Linked DNA regions of Homo sapiens: all the other regions are linked to region 4. Evidence: promoter capture Hi-C in 16 types of primary human blood cells and fetal thymus (Javierre and others, 2016). All regions are on one chromosome and are shown on one strand. The core of a region is centred on a gene start or on the middle of the fragment in contact, and the rest is flanking DNA. Distances in the headings are between cores, read along the strand shown. Region 1 overlaps CCDC171 (coiled-coil domain containing 171). Region 2 overlaps CCDC171 (coiled-coil domain containing 171). Region 3 overlaps CCDC171 (coiled-coil domain containing 171). Region 4 holds the start of TTC39B (tetratricopeptide repeat domain 39B). Region 5 overlaps CCDC171 (coiled-coil domain containing 171).

Region 1 (4,795 bases), core at 2,203-4,702, 280 kb after region 4:
CAACAGGGACTCATATTTTTTGTTAATGGGAGTGTAAAATGATACAGCCACTTTAGAAAAAAACCTGGCCGTTTCTTTTAAAATAAACATGGATTTATCTTATGAGCCAGTGGTTTCACTCTTTATTATTTCCCCATGAGAAAGAAAAACTTTTGTCCAAAAAAGACTTGTAAAAGAATTTCCTAGCAACTCCATTCATGGTGGTCCAAAGTTGGGGAAAAAGACATTCATTAACAAGAGAATGAAGAAACAATTTGTGTTATATAATGAAATGCTACTCAACAATAAGAAGAAAGCAACCACTAACGTATGCGGTAACATGAATGAATCTCCAAAACATGCTTAGTGAGAGAAACTTTACACTCAAGAGGACATCCTGTATGGTTCCATTAACATAAAGTTCTAGGATAGGAAAAGCTAATCATTGGTGAAAAAAAGAATCTAAACAGTGATGGCCTCTGCAGGGTGGGTTGGCAGTGGATTTGACTGGGAAAGAGTATGAGGGTACTTTTTGGGTTGAAAGAAATGTTCTGTATTTTGATAGGTGTTTGGGTTACATGAATGTATTTATTCATAAAATCTCTTTGAACATTGGCTCACACCTGTAATCCCAGCACTTTGGGAGGTGGAGGCGGGTGGATCGCTTGAACCCAGGAATTCAAGACCATCCTGACCAACATAGTGAAACCCCATCTCTACTAAAAACAAAAACTAGCCAGGCATGGTAGTGCACGCCTGTAATTTCAACTACTCAGGAGGCTGAGGCAGAAGGCTCACTTGAACCAAGGAGACAGAAGTTGCAGTGAGCTGAAATCGTACCACTGCACTCTAGCCTGGATGACAGAGTGAGACTCTGTCTCAAAAAAACAAAACGAAAAACTCCTTGAACAGTACACTAAAGATTTGTGCATTCTACTAGATGTACATTTTATCTGTAAAAAAATAAAACTATATTACATTCTAATTAATGATATACATGCTGAACTATTTAGGAGTGAAATGTCCTGATGTTTGCAACTTGCTTTGAAATGCATAAAATGTATGATGGACTGCTGGGTGGATAAATGAATGCATGCATTGAAGGATGGATGAATATCTGATAAAGCAAATATGGCAAAATGTTAACAATCCTAGAGTCCAGGTTGTAGATATATGGATGTTCACTGCACAATACTTTCAACTTTCTGTGTTTTTAAAATTTTTATAGTGAAATGTTGAGGGTAGTGTAAAAAGCCTAATGCAGTTATGAGATAATCCCATAACAATGGAGAGAACAGGGGGTGTGACAAGAGAGAAAATTTTGGAAGCTGGAAAGCAAATGGATGAGGAATAACTGAGTTAGAGAGATGTTAAAATCCTAAGTCAGGAGTGGGGAAAACCGAAAGAGAAATTCTTAGTCAAAAGGCTTATAAACTGGAAGCACCAGATACCATTGGAATTATGTATGGGAGTAGCAGTAGTGAGTAAAATAAGTAGGGTTAGATGAAAGCTGTTTGAGAGGCAGATAGGTCCTTAGATTTCCTTCCAAGAGCATGCTACTCTGGGATTACTTAAGAATTGCTAGTGGAAGTCAGGAGGTTTAATCCCTGGAGATGGCGAAATAGAGTCTTTTGACTGGCAAAACCAGGAAGATTCTGAATGCTGAATATTGAGGAGCCATTCCTTCCAGCTTCCCTTTAATTAATTAATTAATTATTATTATTACTTTTAGAGACAGAGTATCACTTTGTTGCCCAGGCTGGAGGGCAGTGGTGTGGTCATAGCTCAGTGCAGCCTTGAACTCCTGGGCTTAAGCCATCCTCCCACCTCAGCCTCCTGAGTAGTTAGGACTATAGGTGTATGCCACCACACGTGACTAATTAAAAAAAATTTTTTTTTGTAGAGACTAGGTCTTGCCATGTTGACCAGGCTGGTGTCAAACCCTTGGCCACAATCAATCCTCCAAGCTTGGCCTCCCAAAATGCTGGGATTACACGTGTGAGCCACCATGCTCAGCCCCCAGCTTCCTTTATATATTGACTTCCCCAAAAGCTAACACCTGGATTTCTACACTCTATGCCGGATGTTGGAGGACTCTTTTGTGTATCACCTGACCAAGCTGATATAGTTTGGCTCTGTGTCCCCTCCCAAATCTCATCTTGTAGCTGTCATAATTCCCATGTGTTATGGGAGGGACCCAGTGGGAGATGATTGCATCATTGGGGTGGGTCTTTCCCATGCTGTTCTTGTGATATGGGTCTCACGAGATCTGATGGTTTTAAAAATGGGAGTTTCTCTACACAAGCTCTCCTTTTGCCTGCTGCCATGCATGTAAGATATGACTTGCTTCTCCTTGCCTTCTGCCATGATTGTGAGGCTTCCCCAGCCATGTGAAACTGTAAGTCCAATAAACCTCTTTCTTTTGTAAATTGCCCAGTCTCAGGTATGTCTTTATCCAAAAAAACAGACGAATACAAAGCCAGGAGGAAGAACCTAATGATACTGATGTTGGAGGTTTCCCAATAAATGAGCCATCCAGATCCTTCTCCAGCGAAGACTAAAGTTGTTAACGTCCACCTTGAAGCTCAGATTCTAGGTGGTGGGTATATTAGTGTATAAACTGTATTACATTTATAGTTTCTAACTTTTAATGAGAGTAGACAACCAAGAGTTACCAGATATATGAGGAAACCCTTTAAAATGGAGAGAAGAAATCAACTTAGAAGAAACAGAGGCTCTGCAGGGAGAACATTTAAAAGAAGTAGCATTAATTTCCTCAGATCTGAAAGAATATATTTCATCTATGAAGTAAGAACCAGGTGTTATAAAAGATGAAATCTATTAGAAATTAAAAATATGAGGCCAGGCGCGGTGGCTCACGCCTGTAATCGCAGCACTTTGGGAGGCCGAGGCAGGTGGATCATGAGGTCAGAAGTTCAAGACCAGCCTGACTGATATGGTGAAACCCTGTCTCTACTAAAAATACAAAAATTAGCCAGGCGTGGTGGCAAGTGCCTGTAATCCCAGCTACTCGGGAGGCTGAGGTGGGAGAATCACTTGAACCTGGGCGGCAGAGGTTGCAGTGAGCCGAGATTGCGCCACTGTACTCCAGCCTGGGTGAGAGAGTGAGACTCTGTCTCAAAGAATTTAAAAATATGGAAGCAGTGGGAAGAAGAGGCAAGAAGGACCCCCGGACTGACCAAAGCCCACACGCCATTGCATCCCTGCATCTGGTGCTACGTCTTAGCAGCATTACCACCATGCCCAAGAGAAAGCCTGAAGGGGATGCTACAGGAGATAAAGCCAAGCTACAGAGAAGATCTGCAAGGTTGTCTGCTAAACCTGCTCCTTCAAAGCCAGAGCGCAAGCCCAAAAAGCCTTCTTTGCCCCTGCAAAGAAGGGAGAAAAGGTACCCAAAGGGAAAAGCTGATGCTTACAAGGAGGGGAAGAATCCTGCAGGAAATGGAGATGCCAAAACAGACCAGGCACAGGAAGCTCAGCGTGCTGGAGACGCCAAGTGAAATGTGTGCATTTTTGATAACTGTGCACTTTTGGTGACTATACAGTTTGAAATATTTTTCAACCAAGTTTTATGAAGATGCAGACTTTTTTTTTTTTTTTTTTTTTTTATGAGACGGAGTCTCACTCTGTCACCCAGGCTGGAGTGCAGTGGCACGACCTCGGCTCACTGCAAGCTCCACCTCCCGGGTTCACGTCATTCTTCTGCCTCAGCCTCCTGAGTAGCTGGGACTACAGGTGCCCGCCACCACGCCCGGCTAATTTTTTGTATTTGTTTTGGTAGAGATGGGGTTTCACCGTGTTAGCCAGGATGGTCTCGATGTCCTGACCTTGTGATCCGCCTGCCTCGGCCTCCCAAAGGGCTTGGATTACAGGCGTGAGCCACCGCACCCAGCCGTGTTTTTTTTTTAGAGCTATGTTGTTGCCCCACAGAAAACGTCGTTGTTTTTTGAGGAAGGGACATGTGTTACTACTAGAATGTCTCTGAAGTGGATTGATGGGGGGAAAACACGTTTCCCTTCTAGTTTTGAGAGACTTCTTCTTGGCTTCCAGGAGGAGAGATTCCCTGATATTGACACACATAGCCACCTTGGCACAAACACCTTGTGGTGTGGAAAAACAAATTTGTTTTTATGTCCTCTTCTCCCTTCCATCCTCAGCATAGACTTAACTCCCTTAAGCCCAGACATCTCTTGGGATTGACTCCCAGTAATTGGTTGCCAGTGTATCAGGCAATCTGGACTTTCCAATGACACCACTGAGATGGCACTCCTCAAAATAGCAGCCCTTCTGTTTCTAGATTGTAGATCTTTAGATAAATCCTGCCATTTTCATTTCACTTCCTAAAAGTCAGAGTCTGCTTGTGAAAAGTTGTTAAACAACATGTTAATGTGAAATGTCAACCCCCACTCTAAACTCTCTGTTGAGAACATCAAATGAGGACTTCATTGGGTTTATAGTGGCTTTCTGATTTTGGTAGTCCTTTGAAGAAGAGGGTTTGAAAGTTGTATACTGTTAATTGAAATACCTGCCTACAATACCATTATTGTTTGTGAAAAATATAATTAATAAAGTTGGATACAGTTTGGCTTGAAAAAATTAACAAATTAAAAATATGAAGGCAGAAATGAAAAATGTCCCTAGAAGCACTGGAAGATGAAGATGGAAGAAACCTCCCAGAAATTAGAATTAAAAAGACAGAGGTAGAAAAATAGGAGAGAAGAGATGAAAAAATTTGAGGACCAATTTGAATAATAGGGAATAGTGAAAGACGTAAGAGAGAAAACAGAAATGTATG
Region 2 (5,096 bases), core at 1,618-4,117, 330 kb after region 4:
GGTGCCCACCCAGACTGAGGGTAGGCTGCCTCTCCCACTGCACTGACTCAAATGTTAATTTCCTTTGGTAACACCCTCACAGACACACCTAGGAACATTACATCCTTTAATCCAATCAAGTTGACACTCGGTATTAACCATCACAGTGTTGTTTCCACTCTTTCAGCCATAATGAATAATGCCACCATGAACATTCGTGTACAGGTTTTTGTGTGGATATGTTTTCAGTTGTCTTTATGATATATCTAGGAGAGGAATTGCTGGGTCACATGGTAACTATATGGTTAACATTTTGAGGAACTGTCAGTTTGTTTTGTACAGTGGCAGCATTTTACATTCCCACCAGCAAGGTATAAGGGTTCTAGTTTCTCTAGATCCTCACCAACAGCTGTTATTGTCACTCTTTTATATTACAACCACTGTAGTAGGTGTGAAATGGTACCTTATTGTGGTTTTGATTTGCATTTCTCTGATGATTGATGATGTTGAATATCATTTTATGTGCTTATTAGGCATTCATGTATCTTCTTTGGAGAAATAGCTATTTAGACCCTTAGACCCTTCTCTTTTTTAAAAATGGATTATTTGTACTATGTATATATATATATATCTATAAGATGCTAACGATGGAGGAAACTGGGTATGGAGTAGGTAGATGGACTTACCAACAGAAATGCCAAATATGAACTTGGCAAGGATAAACTTCCTCATACTCTAACCACACATGGGTTATTTTTTACAAGATTACAGAAGGAATAAAAATATGAAATTATATTTGAAATAGTATTTTAACATATTGTCTTGTGCTGAACATCTTTTTAGGCCAATAAATTCAGGAATTCATTATATTTTATATCATCATTTTTAATACTATGGTTTGTAGATGGCTTACTAAAAAAGGATTAAGGGCCAGGAGCTGTGGCTCATGCCTGTAATCCCAGCACTTTGGGAGACAGAGGTGGGCAGATCACTTGAGACCAGGAGTTCAAGACCAGCCTTGGCAACATGGTGAAATATCATCCCTACAAAAAATACAAAACTTAGCCAAACATGGTGAAATGTGCCTGTAGTCCCAGCTGCTTGGGAGGCTGAGGTGGGAGGATCACTTGAGCCTGGGGAGTTTGGGCCTGCAGTGAGCTGTGATCGTGCTGCTGTACTCTAGCCTGGGCAACAAAGTGAGACCCTGCCTCAAAAAAAAAAAAAAAAAAAAAAGGTTTAGGATAGAGTTAATGTTCTGAATATTAGAATTTAAAAGATCACTTAGAAGTCACTTAAGGATGCTAGAAAACTCTATCATCACTAAAAACATTTTATTAATTGTGTTATAGTTGTGAGGCTGTACTATGTAATAACGAATTTTTTTTTGTTTTTAGGGTTCTTGGTAAGGCAGTTTTGACTCAGTTAAGAAAATATCGGCTGGGCGTGGTGGCTCATGCCTGTAATCCCAGCACTTTGGGAGGCTGAGGTGGGCCTATCACTTGAGGTCAGGAGTTTGAGACCAGCCTGGCCAACATGGTGAAACCCCATCTCTATTAAAAATACAAAAATTAGCCAGGCATGGTGGCGCTCGCCTGTAATCCTAGCTGCTCTGGAGGCTGAGACAGCAAAATCACTTGAACCTGGGAGGTGGAGGCTGCACTGAGCCGAGATTGTGCCACTGCACTCCAGCCTGGGCAACAGAGCAAGACTCTATCTCAAAAACAAAACAAAAGAAAAAGTAATAAAATGCACACAAAAAAGAAAATATCTAAACCTAAACTTTAAGGTGTGGTTGTGCACAACCCGGTATTGACTTTTTTCTGTAAAATACTTAATTTCCTCAATATCTGTTTTTATTGGTTGATGTTATAGGTATAATATTATTATAGACTGGTTTTATTTTTACTTTTTAAAATTTTTTTGTTTATTTTATTATTATTATTATTATACTTTAAGTTTTAGGGTACATGTGCACAATATGCCGGTTAGTTACATATGTATACATGTGCCATGCTGGTGTGCTGCACCCATTAACTCGTCATTTAGCATTAGGTGTATCTCCTCATGCTATCCCTCCCCCCTCCCCCCACCCCACAACAGTCCCCAGAGTGTGATGTTCCCCTTCCTGTGTCCATGTGATCTCATTGTTCAGTTCCCATCTATGAGTGAGAACATGCGGTGTTTGGTTTTCTGTCCTTGCGATAGTTTACTGAGAATGATGATTTCCAATTTCATCCATGTCCCTACAAAGGACATGAACTCATCATTTTTTATGGCTGCATAGTATTCCATGGTGTATATGTGCCACATTTTCTTAATCCAGTCTATCCTTGTTGGACATTTGGGTTGGTTCCAAGTCTTTGCTATTGTGAATAGTGCCGCAATAAACATACGTGTGCATGTGTCTTTATAACAGCATGATTTATAGTCCTTTGGGTATATACCCAGTAATGGGATGGCTGGGTCAAATGGTATTTCTAGTTCTAGATCCCTGAGGAATCACCACACTGACTTCCACAATATTTTTACTTTATGTTTTTTTCTTTACTGCTGTGTAAATACTTTTGATAATACCAGGTCTCTGCTTTTGGAGAACTTGAAGCTTTGAAGGTAGTCTAGATAGTCTTTATTTTTCTTCTATTTGTAAGAATTTTACAAGTGGAGAGCTTTAGTCTTCTAAGTTACCTATGATTTCTCATATTTAGATTCTTTTTAAAAGCTTTGCTTTATATTATATATCATGTGTTGTATATTAGTTAGTATATTTTATGTTGGCTGTTTGACCACATAGTGACATAATGAACAAGAAGTTAAATTTCTGGAGAGCATTTTATGTTAGTTTTACACTCAATTGCGGAGACAATCACTACCAGTAATACTAGGTACTTAAGTAATTGTTAGTGGTATTTTTAAGAGAATTAAGGTAAGATGGGATAATAATAAAGAAGAAGTTGTTAAAATTTTAATTTAATAAAGTACATTATTTAATATCAGCAATATCAAACTAAAGCAACTAATAAAATAGACATTTAGCCTAATGAATGTTTTAAATTCTAGTGAAGCTTTTTAACAGTTGCATTTCTTGAAAGGTGATTTTTTTATGTGCCTGAGCCAAAGAAGTTTTTATATATATGAAACATAAATATAAAAGAATTTAAAAATCTTATAAGCTTTATATCACTGTGTCTTAATCATCTTAACATGGATCAATGCTTTCTTAGATTAAAAAAAAACAAACAAACTCCCAATCCAATTTTATAAATGCAGTACTGGATACCATAGAATCAAGGGAAAAGCAAACTGGAAAAAGAAATATCCATGGCTTTTATAAACCTCTTTACAACTAGGGGAGTTTATTATCATGGGAAATAAGCTTAACTCAATAAGAAAAGAGAAAAGAGAAGATGCAAACCTAATTCTGAGAGAACTGAAGAATCTTCTGAAGATTATGGTAGAGAGAGAACAGTCTTTGCAAATAAATTCTGAATTGCTTCTGTCAGTCATATTCTATATTATAGTAACATAAAAAAGGGTAAAAGGTAGCATCTTTCTCTAAATGCGTACTATCTTCAACTGAAAATGGAAAAGTTGTATTTTACCTTTCATAATTGTTGATAAAGACCACCTTGTATGATTCATCTTTTTAAAGCCATCATGTGTTTGTAGGAATCATTTTCAAAGGTCCATTTGCATAGATTACTAACTATAAAATAGGTAAATGATGAAATCACCTGTGTTATACAGTCATAGGTATTACACATTTAAATGCAGCATTTTATGTTTATAATAAATTTTAAGATTGGAACTTCAGTTAAAAATTTGGTAAATACTCAAGTTTTTTTTGCCAGAAAAGGTAGAGATAATTTTTAAAGAAGGTAAATCAGTTTATTATCATGTTAATCAGAATTTGCGACCACAAATTCTGTTCCTGATATTTCTTATTTTTATTATCTGTGGGTTTTTTGATTATACCTAGAAGTAATAAAACTTTTTCTTCATTAAACTCTTTTATAATCTGAGTGGTATACTTCATTTCTTGCTGAATAAAAAAATTACAGTGTTCTCCAGTTTATTTCTATTGTCAGCCTATTGTCCTCATATATCCCTTCTGAAACCGTTAAGGCTCTGTTACCATCCTCAGTGACTTTAACTTTGAATTTTCTACCTTCAGAACTGCATAGTTAATCATGATCAAGATGACTGGCACAGAGAACTCTGAATCTTTCTATGTTCTGCTATGCTTTATATGAGCCTGTTTATGTAAAATAATCTAGGGGATTCTGGAAAACAAATATGTTTTGGCCATTAATAAAACAGTTACAGATGAATTGTAGTTCAGAGAAGTAAGTAGAAGGAATATCCTTTAGCGACAAATGAATTTTTGTCTACAACACAGGTCTTTTGCTTACTCCTAATGGAAATGCTTATAGATGTGTCAGGACTCGTTTTGGCCTTTGGGCCAAGGACCTAGTATGGCATCTGGCATATAGTAGGTACTCTATAAATGTTCCATTCTGCTTTTTAGTTGACCTATATAGTAAAATAAGTATCAATGAGATCATCATGAAAAGTTATAAACCTATTCATTTGTTTTTAATAATCTTTTGTTTTTATGCAGTCACATTTGTTTAATGGGATTGAATATAAATGTAAAATGTTTGGACTTCTATGAGGGTACAATAAAGTGGATAGGACTTCCTGACCAATTCACTTCCAAGACCAGTTGGACTTCCTTCCTCTTCTCTTTTACATGGCAGTTCCCGTGTTCTGAGTCACAAAGCAGCATTAATTTTGTCTCTGAGTTGTTTTTCTAATGTACTGTGCTGGCCACATGGAAAGTAGGAGAGCTACTTAAAAAAAAACACCACCTTCAAATTAGAATGCCTTATTAAGATTTAAAATATTATGTATCATACGAGGCCCCTTATGTAAAATATATCATGTTATTTTAAAAGTCAAATGAGAACATACACGAGAGTTCTTTGAAAACTGTAGCATATTAATATTTAACTCTAGGCATAATCTCCTCAGTGACATTAATGTAAATACACTCTGTCATGTAGAAGTGACATTAGAAATATAAATGCTTACATTTAAAAAGCCAACATTGAAGGTCA
Region 3 (4,673 bases), core at 1,714-4,213, 310 kb after region 4:
AAACATCATAAGCTCTAACTGATTGGCCTTTGATTTTCCAGGTTCTTTTTTTTAAAAAAGGATTAAATTTAAACTTGGTGGAATAGTGGGCATACTCTTTGTTTATTGCAATGGGATTTAAGTGATTATGTGTTGTGTTTCTACATGATTTGTCAGTAAAATGGGAATCACGTGTGATTTTTTTTTTTTTTTTCTTCAGACAGGGTCTCACTCTGTCACCCAGGCTGGAGTGCAGTGGCATGATCTCAGCTTGCTGCAGCCTCTGCCTCCTAGGCACAAGTGATCCTCCCACCTCAGCCCTCCAAGTACTGGGACCACAGGCATGCGCCACAACGCCAGCTAATTTTTGTTTATTTATTTATTATTTTGAGATGGAGTCTCGCTCTGTCGCCCAGGCTGGAGTGCAGTTGTGTGATCTTGGCTCACTGTAACCTCCACCTCCTGGGTTCAAGCGATTCTCTTGCCTCAGCCTCCCGAATAGCTGGGATTACAGGTGTGTGCCACCACACCTGGCTAATTTTTTGTACTTTTAGTAGAGACAAGTTTCCACCATGTTGGCCAGGTTGGTCTCGAACTCCTGATCTCAAGTGATCTGCCCCCTTTGGCCTCCCAAAGTGCTGGGATTACAGGTGTGAGCCACCACGCCCAGCCATTTCTGTTTATTTTTTAGGGATGATGTTTTGCCATGTTGCCCAGTGTGGTCTTGAACTCTTGAGTTCAAGGGATCTACCCACCTTGGCCTCAAAGTGCTGGGATTACAGGAGTGAGCCACTATGCCTGGCCTATGATTTTCTTTTATAAATAAATCTCATGAGACTTCCTAAATAATTTATTTTACTATTTTATTTATTTTACTATATAAAATACTATATAAAATAGTTTCGATCAACTAGGATATAAGCATCTTTTTGTTATAGACTCCATTTTGTTATTATTTCAAATTATTTGGTTTATGGTTAACCATGTAAATTGCTATTTATTTACTTTAAAGTAGACAAGTATGTAAGTCAATGACTGAAAGTTGGAGATTATGTATTTGTAATTTAAGAAGGCATATAATTTAACAGTGACTGAATTAATACTGGGGCTATTGAGTGATTGAAGGAGGAGGACCTATCATATAGAATAATAGTCTTTTATACTTAGGTAGTATAGTGCATAATGTTCTTAAAAGTGCTTTCATATATGAAAGTACTCTTATGAAAAAATGAGATTACATAAGGTTGTTCATAATACTATTTGTATTTGGCCATTCTCACATTGCTATGAAGAAATACTTGAGACTGGGTAATTTATAAAGGAAAGAGATTTAATTAATTGGCTCATCATTCTGTATGCTTTACAGGAAGCATGGTGCTAACATCTGCTCGGCTTCTGGGGAGGCCTCAGGAAGCTTACAATAATGGTGGAAGGCAAAGGGGGAGCAGGCATGTCACATGGAATTTATGTTCCTCTCTATACTGGTTATTCTAGTTAGCAGTTCCTGTAATAACCTTTTATCAACGTTCTTAGCTTCTTTGCATTGTGTTAGAACATGCTCCTTTAGCTCAGAGGAGTTTGTTCCACCTTCTGAAGCCTACTTCTGCCAATTGCTCAATCTCATTCTCTGTTCAGTTTTGTGCCCTTGCTGGAGAGGTGTTGCGATCATTCGGAGGAGAAAAGTTATTCTGGCTTTTGGAATTTTCAGCATTTTTGTGCTGACTTTTCCTTATCTTTGTGGATTTATCTACCTTTGATCTTTGAGGCTGATGACCTTTGGATGGGCTTTTTGTGGGAGGGTTTTTTTTTTTTTTTGAGATGGAGTCTTGCGCTGTCACCCAGGCTGGAATGCAGTGGCGTGATCTCGGCTCACTGCAAGCTCCGCCTCCTGGGTTCATGCCATTCTCCTGCCTCAGCCTCCCAAGTAGCTGGGACTACAGGTGCACGCCACCACACCCGGCTAATTTTTTGTATTTTTAGTAGAGACGGGGTTTCACCATGTTAGCCAGGATAGTCTTGATGTCCTGACCTCCTGATCCACCCGCCTCGGCCTCCAAAAGTGCTGGGATTACAGGCGTGAGCCACCACGCCCGGCCTGTGGGGGGGGTTCTTGATGTTGATGTTGATGTTGTTCCTTTCTGTTTGTTAGTTTTTCTTCTAACAGGCCCCTCTTCTGATGGTCTGCTGCAGTTTGCTGGACTTCTGCAGGTCTGCTGCAGTTTGTAGGCCCTGTTTGCCTGGGTATCACTAGTGGAGGCTGGAGAACAGCAAAGATTGCTGCCTGCTCCTTCCTCCGGAAGCTTTGTCCCAGAGGGGCAGCAGCCTGATGCCAGCTGGAGCTCTCTTATATGAGGTGTCTGTCGATCCCTATTGGGAGGTCTCTCCCAGTCAGGAGGCAGGGGGGTCAGGGACCCACTTGAGGAGGCAGTCTGTCCTTAGGAGTGCGGGTGCGCTGTGCTGGGAGAATCCCCCTTGTCAGGATCAGCCGCTGTCTTCAGAGCTGACAGGTAGGAAAGATTTAAGTCCACTGAAGCTGCGACTGCAGCCGCCCCTTCCCCCAGGTGCTCTGTCCTACCAGGATGAGAGTTTTATCTGTAAGCTCCTGACTGAACTGCTGCATATCCTGCAGAGATGCCCTGCCCAGTGAGGAGGAATCCAGAGAAGCAGTCTGGCCACAGCCACTTTGCTTTGCTGTGGTGACTGTGCCCAGTCCAAACCTCCCAGTCTCCTTAGCACTATCAGGAGAAAACCACCTACGAAAGCCTCAGTAATGGCGGTCGCTGCTTCCCCCACCAAGCTCGATCATCCCAGGTCGACTCCAGACTGCTGTGCTGGCAGTGAGAATTTCAAGCCAGTGGTTCTTAGCTTGCTAGGCTCCGTGGGAGTGGGACCTGCTGAGCTAGACTTCTTGGGTTCCTGGCTTCAGCTCCCTTTCCAGAGGAGTGGACGGTTGTCCTTTCTCACTGGAGTTCCAGGTGCCACTGGCATACGAAAAAACTCCTGCAGCTTGGTGTCTGCCCAAACAGCCGCCCAGTTTTGTGCTTGAAACACAGGGCCCTGGTGGCATAGGGTCACGAGGGAATCTCCTGATCTGCGGATTGCAAAAATCCATGGGAAAAGCGTAGTACTCAGGGCGGGTAGCACAGTCCCTCCCCACTTCCCCTGGCTGGCTGGGGGAGGGAGTTGCCCTAGCTCCTTGCACTTCCAGGGTGAAGTGACGCCCCACCCTGCTTCTGCTTGCTCTCCGTGGGTTGCACCCAGTGCCTAACCAGTCCCAGTGAGATGAACTGTGTACCTCAGTTGGAAATGCAGAAATCACCCACCTTCTGCGTTGGTCTCGCTGGGAGCTGCAGACTGCCGCTGTTTCTATTTGGCCATCGTGGCCCCTCCCCGCCCTGTCCAGTGGTCTTTACGTTACTGCTATTGTAATTGTTTTGGGGCACCATGAACCATGCCTGCATAAGGTGATGTACTTAATTTATAAATATATGTGTTCTCACTACTCCTCTGTCCAGCCGTTCTTCCAACTCTCCCTCTCGTCTGGCCTTCCTACTCCTTGAGACACAACAATGTTGAAATGAGGCCAGTTAACTCTACAGTGTCCTCTAAGTGTTCAAGTGAAAGGAAGGCTCACACCTGTTTCATTTTAAATCAAAAGCTAGAAATGATTAAGCTTAGTGAGGAAGGAATGTTGAAAACCAGTACAGGCCAAACGCTATGTCTTTAGTGCCGAACAGCCAAGTTGTGAATGCAAAGGAAAAGTTCTTGAAGGAAATTAAAAGTGCTACTTTAGTGAACACATAAGTGATAAGAGAGCCAGCCATTCTTATTGCTGACATGGAGAAAGTTGTAGTGGTCTGGATAGATCAAACCAGCCACAGCATTCCCTTAAGTCAAAGCCTAATTTAGAACAAGACCCTAACTCTCTTCAATTTGATGAAGGCTGAGAGAGGTGAGGAATTTGGAGAAGAAAAGTTGGAGGCTAGGAGAGATTGGTTCATGACTTTTAGGGAAATAAGACTTCTACATAATATAAAAATGCAAGGTGAAACAAGTGCTTATGTAGAAGCTGCAGCAAGTAATCCCAAAGATCTAGCTAAAATAATCGATGAAGGTGGCCACACTAAACAACAGATTTTCATTGCAGACAAAACAATCTTCTACTGGAAGGTGTCATCTAGGTGTTTCAGAGCTAGAGAGGAGAAGTCAGTGCCCAGCTTTAATGCTTCAGAGGACAGGATGACTCTCTGGTTAGGGGCTAATATTGCTGGTGAGTTTAAGTTGAAGCCATTGCTCATTTACCATTCTCCAAATCCTAGGGCCCTTAAGAATTATGCTACATATACTCTGCCTGTGCTCTATAAATGGGACAACAAAGCCCAGATGACAGCTCATCTCTTTACAGAATATTTAACTGAATATTTAAGCCCACGGTACCTGCTGCTCAGAAAAAAAAGATTCTTCTCAAAATATTGTTTGTTAACAATGCACTTGGTTACTGAAGAGCGCTGATGGTTATGTACCAGCAAGTTAATGTTGTTTTCATCCTTGCTAACACAACATCCATTCTGCAGCACATGCATCAATGAAGAATTTTGACTTTCAAGTCTTATTACTTAAGAAATACATTTCATAAGGCTATAGCTGACATAGATAGTGACTCCTTTGATGGATCTAGGCAAATTAAATTGAAA
Region 4 (4,524 bases), core at 1-2,500:
TGTCTCTCTGTCATGCAGAGGAGCTGTAGTTCAGTTTTTGTTTTTTGTTTATTTTACGGAGCACATTTAAAGTATAGTCTTCCTTGTCAGGAGATTCCTGGCACTAAAGAGATGGACGGGAAACTTAACCGCCTCCTCCAGATCGTCCACTATTGCATCATTTGAAACCAAAGCCTTCTAAAGGCAGCGACTCGCACAATTCAAGTCAGGTAAGATGGCAGGAACAGCAGCTGTGGGTGCTGGCTGCTGCTGGAGCCTCGGTCTCAACTTCAAGAGCAGGGAGAGCGCTGTCTCTGGAGTTGCCAGGTGCTGAAATGAATAGTCAATAAATCAACAGGTCCGGCGCGCTAGCCCCTGGGTGCTCAGGCCCGGGCGCGCCACGACTGAAGGAGTGGCTAATTACTCAAACACAGTTGAAACCAAAGGAGGCCGGAGTCGGTTCTCAAAGTGGTTTCCCTCCGGCCACCACCGACTCTGAGGACCTGCTAGGGGAAGTGTCCCGGCCCCGTGGAGGGAGAGGGAAGCACCACAGCCTGGGCTGCGGCTCTAGCCCTCCAGCCCCAGCCCCTGGCAGCCCTGCCCTGCTGTCGCGGCAGGTACCCCTCTACTCATTGTTCCTCAGGCTGCCCCCTCTTTTCATCAATCGTAAGCCTTTCGGTTCTGCCACCAGGAAACTTCCATAGAAGGTGAGATTCCCAGGTCGAGGGATGATTCCACGAACACCCAGAGAGCCAGTGCCAGGACTTCAGGGTCAGACTTCGTAAAGCCCAGGCGTCGCTGGGCCGGCCCGGAACAGCTCAGAGCTGCGGGTCCTATGGTCCCGCGCCCTCACGCCCATCCAAGTGCTGGCAGGACGTGGGTCCTCCATCCCCACGACTCGCGGGGCCGGCGCTCCGAACCTCGGCACTGCGTCCGCTCCGCGCGCCGCAGGGACCCTCCTAGCTCCAGCGGGGACAGACCTACCAAGGCCGGGCGCCCCCACCCGGCGCCCGCCAGCCCACCCCAGAGAGGGGACCAAGGGGGCGGGGCCTCGGCCGTCCTAGCCGGGCTCACTCTTCTCTCCCGGACTCCTGTCCAGGGCTTCAGGGGCCGGGCCCGCAATCCCCATCGGATCGTACCTCGTCCGCTTCCAGCTCCGCTCGGCTGCCTAAGAGCGCCATATTCCTCCTCTGGCTGCTGCCACCCAAAAACCAAGCAGGGAACTCAGAGCCGACTCCTGCTCTCGGCTCTGGGCTCAGCCCAGCGCAAAGGAGGGCAAAAGGGGACGGCCCGGCGCTCCCTCCGGGTCTCGGGCGGGGCCTGAGTGCAGCTACTCGATTTCCCCGCCCCCGGAGCCGGCAGGCCAGCACAGCATCCATTTCCTCCCCGGACGCCGCGCCGCTGGCCGGGCCACTTGCCCGGCCCCCAGCGGGCGGCAGCCCCGCCCAAGTGGGTGGAGTCACCTCCCAGATAAAGTTTCCCGGTCTGGCACGCCCTCTGGGAGGGTTTCCTAAGCTTTCCTGCCGCCTGTTCTCTGCGGTGGCTGGGCACACCTGGAAAGAAGCTAGAGAGCGCGGGCATGACGAAGCCAAGGTCAAAGCAGCGCCCCACCTGGGGTCCGTGGAAGCATCCACCTGGTCTTTGGTCCGGTGCCAGTCCTTTTCCCTCGCCAGGTGGCCACCGCATCTCGCAGATGGTGTGGCCTGAGGGCAGCCTTGGGTCACGGTCACTGGTCCCCGAGAGGCCTCTGACACACCACCCACCTGGACTGTAGGTGGAAGGACTCTGCTTGCTTCTGTGTTCAAAAAATAGAAAAAAACGCGGGACAGAGATTTATACATATTGGAACTCCTCTACTTCCCCCTACCCGGACAGTGTATTCTCCCCATAGCATCCTGTATTTTGTAACTCCAAACATAGGTGTATAATTCGTGCTTGAACTATAAACTCCATGGGGGTAGGATGCTATCTGTCCTCTTCAAGACTGTATCCCCAACACCCAGAACAGTGTCTTGCACATCGTAGGTGCTCAACAGATATTTGTTGGCTGAGTTTAGAAACTGAACCTTGCTTCTGACATGTAAAATAACTGGAAAATTAAAAGCTAGATCTTTAAGAGTTTGGGGGAGAGAGGTCAGATTTACTTTACATACAGAAAAATGCACCAAGTTAAATGTGTGATTCAGTGACAAGTGTTTACAAAGCATCCCAGTCATAATATAGAACATCCTGAAAAGTTTTCTGTGACCCTTTGCTGTCAATTTCCTACCTCCGCTCCCTAGCCTCTGTCAATCACTGATCTGCTATCAACATCGATTTGCCTTCTCTAGAATTTCATATAAATTTAATTAGAGCATGTGGTCTTCCATGTCTGGCTCATGAAAGGCTATTTAATAGTCATCCAGTGATAACTGTAAAAACAGCTAATAGTTCTTGAGTCCTTACTATGTGCCAGGACTCTACTGAACCTCTTGCATATAGTATTTCATTTATTCTTCATAACCCCATAAAGTAGGGTGCTGTTCTCTTTCAGATGAGTAAACTGAGGCTCAGAGAGTTCAAGTAATATGCCTGAGGCCAGACAGCAGTTAAGTAAGTAGGGATGCCAGCATCTGAACCCCAGCAGTCTAACTCTAGGGCCTAGCTGATAACCATTGCTTTGTACTGTACTGGCTCTAGCCACCCTCCCTCTCTTTCTTTCTGTGTCAGTAGAGCAGTTGTCTGTGCAAGTCCATTACATACATTTTCAGTGAGTCACTTTGCATCCTTAATACTTGCTGTACAATTTTAATGGCTTGGCATGTACTTTTGTACTAGAATAATAAAATGGTTTCTACAGCAGAAACATTGAAAAAATGGGTTAGATCGTGTGATGGTTGCTCAACTCTCTGAATTGTCTAAAAATCCTTGAATTGTGTACTTACAATAGGTGGAACTTATGATTATGTAAATTATATCTTAGTAAAGCTGTTTTAAAAAAACTAGCTGACACAGGCTAGGTGTGGTGGCTCACGCCTGTATGGGATTACAGCACTGGGAGACTGAGGAAGGAGGCTAACTTGAGTTTAGGAGTTCGAGACTAGCCTGAGCAACATAGCAAGACCCAATTTCTAAATAATAATACTTTTTTTTTTTGAGAGACAGTTTCACTCTCATCTCCCAGGCTGGAGTGCAATGGCTCGATCTTGGCTCACTGCAACCTCCGCCTCCTGGGTTCCCACTAATCTGTAAATTGCTTAGAAGGAGGCACTATCTTATTCATCAGTGCAGGTACTCAATAAAAAAGCTCCAGGTGCAGTGGCTCATGCCTGTAATCCCAACACTTTGGGAGACCGAGGCGAGCGGATCACGAGGTCAGAAGTTCGAGACCAGCCTTACCAACATGGTGAAACCCAGTCTCTACTAAAAATACAAAAAGCAGCTGGGCATGGTGGTATGCGCCTGTAATCCCAGCTACTGAGGAGACTGAAGCAGGAGAATTGCTTGAACCCTGAAGGCGGAGGTTGCCGTGAGCCGAGATCGTGCCATTGCACTCCAGCCTGGTGAAAAGAGTGAAACTCCGTCTCAAAAATAATAATAATAATAATACTTTTATTATTTAGAACACATGCTCTGAACACTTAGAATCAGATGGACCAGAAGAGACATAGAGTTTGTTTAATTCCAATACCCTTGAAAGTTTCCATTCCTTCCCAGACCCCCAACCCACTCCTACCTCCTCCTATGTTTCACTTTCTGAGGCTAGAATTCCTATCCAGGTCCAGATTCTACTCTGTATTACTCATGCATGGTTCTGTTTTTCAAAGTTCATTGGTTCCTGAATTGATAGCACATCCTTTTGACATGAAGCCATCTCACTGGTAGCTTCTTCTCCCATATGCTGTTATTCTGCCTTTGGAATTTCAACTCTTCAAATTTTGAAGAGATCCAAACAAACTTCGCTCTAATTAGTGACAGAATTATGTTATAATGAAAATCGAGTACAATTTTTCAAAAATCTATACTTATAATTGAAGCTTGATTGGTGTTTTTGTTGTTGAATTTTTTACATATCAGGGATCAAACCTGAAGTCTCGTATGTTTTAAATTCACGGCAGGAGATAAGCAACATTCATGTTTCAATTATAAACACTGAATGAATAAATGTATTCTAGCCACTGGAACGTCTAATCAAATTTGCTTTGCTCAGGGCAGCTGTCAGCTTTGCCTATACAAGAGTGATTTTATCGTGAATCACAAATATAAAAGTTTTTCTTCAAAGAACAATTAGAATGGATTTGTTTTTACACAGAATTCCCCTTGCAAGTTTGCTGATAATGTTATACTCTAGCAGTCAAGTGAGATTACTCAGATATTCCATATCCCAGAAGTAATTAGCATAGAGATCAAGCAAGAGGGTATCTGAATCATTTCATTTTGAAGCCACACCTACTGGGAGCTGTTTGTGTTTCAAAATAAATCTAATATTGTAAACAATCTAATCTTCAGTATTCCTGAACATGTTACCTTTAGCTGATAGTTTTTTGCTGGTACTTGATTTAAGTG
Region 5 (4,707 bases), core at 1,721-4,220, 260 kb after region 4:
ACAGTCTCCATCTCAGTCTGCTTATTTGAGTTCCTTTTCTTTTGGTGATCTTCTGAGGTCTAGATATCTCTATACACCTACAATTTCACTTATCAATTATTACATCTTTCCAAAATAAACCAAAAAACAAGAAAAATCTCCAATAGTATCAGGACTCAAACTGCTATTGTATCATTTACTATTTTAACAGACCTCAAATCATCTAACGTGAAGCCACAGACATCTTGGGCAATTTTAATCATCAAGAAAGAAATATGTCATTAAGAAATAGCAGGGTATTTTGAAAGAGTTGGAAAACATCATGAATTTGAATACTTCAAGTAATACTGGTGATACCCAAAGGTAAGCCTCTAGTCTCTTCTTTTAGTTGATGAACGTTTTTAGTTGCAAGGAACAGGGAGAAGTCAGTGGTTGTAGAGCTAACTGTAAGAATTCTCATGGGATGGTAAGGGGAGTAGAAATTCTGTGGGACTGAAGGAGCATGAATGAAGCCTCATAAGAATTGGAACTGATTCTAGAGACTTTATGGGGATTTTGTGCTCCTCTGTTAATTTGGACCACAAAAGTCTGTGTGTCTGAACTTTGTCCTGTTACTAGAGACTTGCTTGTTCTTTTCCACTACTTTAAATGTTTCCCTTGTATTTTTTATTTATATTTCTGTTTTGTTTTCTTTAACCTCTGTGGCTTTAATTCCTCTTTCTTCATTGGCCCAGCTCTAATTCATGGCTACTGCTTAAGCATTCATTTAGTCTTAGCTCCTGTTGCTGTTTCGCTTCCTTACTTGGTATCTCTCAGTTTACCCTTCAAGACGTAACGCCTAATTGCTGTTGCTCATCTTTTTTGTACCATTGATTTCTGCCTTTGGGCGTGGCGCCTACCTTTAGTTCATTCACCTTTGGTGGGTGGAGTCTATAATACAAAACTGGACCACATAGGGCAGTGCCACTCTCTCCTAAGTGTGCTTTACAAAGAAATAAGTACTGAAATTAAAAGTAAATGTTTAGAAACTTTTATAGTCATGTAACAGAGTAATATTCTGTCTGCTGAATCTAAGAGTAAAACATTTGGGGTTGTATTCTGTCTGTTTTTAAAATTTCTTTAAAAATAATGCATTAAATGTATTTTACAAAATCATCATGGATGGGGTGAAGATAGTCCTTCCTCATATTTAGTTTGAGAAGGACTGATCTAGACTGCCTTTTCAGCAAGGATGTGTGGGTGGGACAAGTACCAAGACTAACATGTAATTTACCCGTAAATTTGTTTTCCACTTAGCTTTTGAAGCTACCCACCCCCCACTTTTTTTTTTTTTTTTTTTTGAGACAGAATCTTGCTCTGTCGCCCAGATTGGAGTGCAGTGGCATGATCTTGGTTCCCTGCAACCTCCGCCTCCCGAGTTCAAGTGATTCCCCTGCCTCAGCCTCCTAAGTAGCTGGGATTATAGGCGCCTGCTGCCACGCCTGGCTAATTTTAAATATGTATTTACAAATTAGAATATTTCACCTTATTTAGTATCCTGCTTTTTCAATTTTGGGGAAACTTCTTACCACATCAATGTATCAAAGTTTTTAAATTTTTCTGAAGTGGGGTCTTGTTATGTTGCCCAGGCTGTCTGAGAACTCCTGGCCTCAGGCAATCCTCCTGCATCAGCCTCCCAAGTAGCTGGAACTGTAGGCACGCACCATTGCTCCGGCTTGTCATCATTTTTAATGGCTGAATTACTTTTTATAATTAGAGAATCTGGATACAGTTATTTAAAATCTGCTACTAATCTACTTTCTGTTTCTATAGATTTGCCTTTTTTGAACAATTCATGTGAATGGAATCACATAATAGATGGTCTTTTGTGGCTTCTTTTACAGGGCATATTCCTGAGTTTTGTAAAGTTGTAACACGTAGCAGCCCTTCGTTTCTTTTTATTGCTGATTGTATTCCATTGTATGGATATGCCACATTATGCCCATCTGCCAGTTGACAGACATTTGAGTTGTTTCCACTTTTTGGGTACTATGAATAATGCTGCTGTGCATGTTTGCATATGTCTTTGTGTTGACATATGTTTTTGTTTCCCTTAGGTAGATTCTTAGGAGCAGCAATGCTGTATCATATAGTAAATTTATGTTAAAATTTTCAAGAAACTGCCAAATTGTGTTCTGAAGTGGCTGGGTCATTTTATATTATCACTAGCAATAATTGAGGGTTTTAATTTCTCTATAACCTGACCAATACTGGTTTTTATCTATTTCAATTTAGCCATTTTGGTGAGTGTGAAGTTATATGTTATTGTGGTTATAATTTGAATTTTCCTAATGATTAACGATGTTGAACATCTTTGCATGTGCTTTTTGGTAATTCATGTATCTTCATTGGTGAAATGTCTCTTCAGATCTGTTTATTTTTAAATTGTGTTTTTTTTTTTTATGTTATTGAGCTTTAGGAGTGTTTGTATATTTGGAATGCAAGTCCTTTATCAGATACATGATTTGCTGGCCTGGTGCAGTAACTCATGCCTGTAATCCCAGCACTTTGGGAGGCTGAGGTGGGTGGATTGCTTGAGCCCAGGAGTTCGAGACCAGCCTGGCCAATATGGCGAAACCCCATCTCTACAAAAAAATACAAAAATTAGCCAGGCGTGGTGGTGTGCCTGTGTGGTCCCAGCTACTCCAGAGGCTGAGGCATGAGAATTGTTTGAAGCTGGGAGGCGGAGATTGCAGTGAGCCTAGATCATGCCACTGTACTTGAGCCAGGGTGACAGAGCGAGACTTTGTCTCAACAACAACAACAACAAAAAATAAGATATATGATATGCAAACATTTTTCTCCTGTTTAGTGGCTTGACTTTTTGTTTTCTTAATAGTGTCTTTGGAAATGCACAAGTTTTTAACTTTGATGAAGTCCAGTTTATCAGTTCTTTTCCTATAGGAGTTGTGCTTTTGGTTTTGTATATAAGAAATCTCTGACTAACCTAAGGTCATGAAGATTTTTCTTCTATGTTTTCTTCTAGAAGTTTTATAATTTTAGCTCTTATATTTAGTGCTCTATTTTAAGTTACTTTTTGTACGAGGTAAGGGTCTAAATTTGTCTCTTTGCATGTGCGTAGCCAGTTGTTCCAGCAGCGTTGTTGATAAGAGTAACATTTCCCCGTTGAATTGCCTTGATACTTCTGTTGAAAATTACTTAACTATTTAAGTATAGGTTTATTTCTAGAGTCTTAACTCTGATATATTGATCTACATGTCCTTTTTTTTTTTTTTTTTGAGGCAGAGTCTCACTGTGTTGTCAAGGCTGGAGTGCAGTGGCGTGATCTCACTGCAACCTCTGTCCCCCGGGTTCAGGTGATTCTCCTGCCTCAACCTCCCGAGTAGCTGGGATTACAGGCACCTGCTACTGTGCCCAGCTAATTTTTGTATTTTTAGTAGAGACGGGGTTTCACAATCTTGGGCAGGCTGGTCTTGAACTCCTGACCTTGTGATCCACCGGCCTCAGCCTCCCACAGTGCTGGGATTACAGGCGTACATGTCTGTTCTTAATCCAATATCACATTGTCTTGATTACTGTAGCTTTATAGTAAGTTTTGAAATTAGGAATCAAAAGTTTTCCCATTTGTTCTTCAAGATTGTTTTGGCTATTTTGAATTCTTTGTCTTTCCATATGAATTTTAGGATCAGCTTTTCAGTTTCTGCAAAAATGTCTGTTGGGGTTTTAATAGGGATTATATTGAATATGTAGAATAATTTGGGGAGAATTGCCATTTTAATAATATTGAGTTTTCCTTACATGAATGTGAGTATGGTGGAATGTCTTTCCACTTGTTTAGCTTTTCAACTCCTTTGAACAACATTTTGTATTTTTCAGTGTAAAAATCTTTCACTATTTTTTTTTTTTGAGACAAGGTCTTGCTCTGTTGCCCAGGCTAGAGTACAGTGGCATGATCTTAGCTCACTGTGGCCTCAACTCCTGAGCTCAAGTGACCCTCCTGCCTCAGCCTCCTTAGTAGCTAGGACTACAGGCATGTACCACCATGGCTGGCCAATTTTTTTTATTTTTGTAGAGACAAGATCTTGCTATGTTTCTCAGGCTGGTCTTGAACTCCTGGCCTCAAGTGATCCTCCTGCCTTGGCTTCCCAAAGTGCTGGCATCAGGCATGAGCCACCATCCCTGGCCTTGCATTTCTTTTGTTAAATTTATTTTATTCTTTTTGATGCTGTTATAAATGGAATTGTTTTCTTAATTTTGTTTTTGGATTGTTCATTACTAGGATATAGAAGTATAATTGATTTTTGTTTATTGATCTTGTATTCTGTGACCTTGCTGAAATTGATTTTAGTTCTAGTCTGTTTTTTCTTAGTGGATTTCTAGAATTTTCTTTCAGAATCATGTCCTTTGTAATTAAAGACAGTTTTACTTCTTCTTTTCCAGTATGCATGCCTTTTATTTCTTTTACATTGCATGATTGCACCATCTACATCTCCAATACATCTTTTTTTTTTTTTTTTTTTTTGAGGCGGAGTCTTGCTCTGTTGCCCAGGCTGGAGTGCAGTGGCGCGATCTTGGCTCGCTGCAAGCTCCGCCTCCCGGGCTTAGGCCATTCTCCTGCCTCAGCCTCCGGAGTAGCTGGGACTACAGGTGCCCGCCACCACGCCTGGAGAATTTTTTGTATTTTTAGTAGAGATGGGGTTTCACCGTGTTAGCCAGGATGGTCTCGAT

What was found. The method cuts DNA at HindIII sites, captures the fragments that hold promoters and counts their contacts. A CHiCAGO score of 5 or more calls a contact.
Region 1: a fragment that was not itself captured here is called in contact with the fragment with the promoter of TTC39B in region 4 in 2 of 17 cell types (fetal thymus and total CD8 T cells); the score reaches 5.8 in fetal thymus.
Region 2: a contact is called between a fragment that was not itself captured here and the fragment with the promoter of TTC39B in region 4, in 2 of 17 cell types (fetal thymus and total CD4 T cells). The highest score is 7.1, in fetal thymus.
Region 3: a contact is called between a fragment that was not itself captured here and the fragment with the promoter of TTC39B in region 4, in 2 of 17 cell types (naive B cells and fetal thymus). The highest score is 6.4, in naive B cells.
Region 5: a contact is called between a fragment that was not itself captured here and the fragment with the promoter of TTC39B in region 4, in 6 of 17 cell types (naive CD4 T cells, monocytes, naive CD8 T cells and 3 more). The highest score is 7.4, in naive CD4 T cells.

Annotation. Positions count from the first base shown.
Region 1 is chr9:15,585,116-15,589,910 of GRCh38, forward strand. The region is part of intron 4 of CCDC171 (coiled-coil domain containing 171); the gene reads left to right. It also overlaps the pseudogene HMGN2P16. Among named protein-coding and RNA genes, the nearest start is that of CCDC171, 34 kb to the left of the region's middle. The HindIII fragment of the contact is 3,016 bases long and covers 1,945-4,795 here.
Region 2 is chr9:15,635,560-15,640,655 of GRCh38, forward strand. All of the region lies in intron 7 of CCDC171 (coiled-coil domain containing 171), which reads left to right. Among named protein-coding and RNA genes, the nearest start is that of CCDC171, 85 kb to the left of the region's middle. The HindIII fragment of the contact is 343 bases long and covers 2,697-3,039 here.
Region 3 is chr9:15,615,601-15,620,273 of GRCh38, forward strand. All of the region lies in intron 6 of CCDC171 (coiled-coil domain containing 171), which reads left to right. Among named protein-coding and RNA genes, the nearest start is that of CCDC171, 65 kb to the left of the region's middle. RefSeq lists an enhancer at 2,877-3,376. The HindIII fragment of the contact is 1,373 bases long and covers 2,278-3,650 here.
Region 4 is chr9:15,305,966-15,310,489 of GRCh38, forward strand. TTC39B (tetratricopeptide repeat domain 39B) reads right to left here and starts at 1,251. Exons shown (of 20, transcript NM_152574.3): 1 at 1,119-1,251. The coding sequence starts at 1,160. RefSeq lists enhancers at 1-452, 1,016-1,578 and silencers at 816-1,135, 1,166-1,505. The HindIII fragment of the contact is 2,405 bases long and covers 1-1,492 here.
Region 5 is chr9:15,563,788-15,568,494 of GRCh38, forward strand. It overlaps CCDC171 (coiled-coil domain containing 171), which reads left to right. Exons shown (of 26, transcript NM_173550.4): 2 at 191-342. The coding sequence starts at 302. Among named protein-coding and RNA genes, the nearest start is that of CCDC171, 13 kb to the left of the region's middle. The HindIII fragment of the contact is 8,095 bases long and covers 1-4,707 here.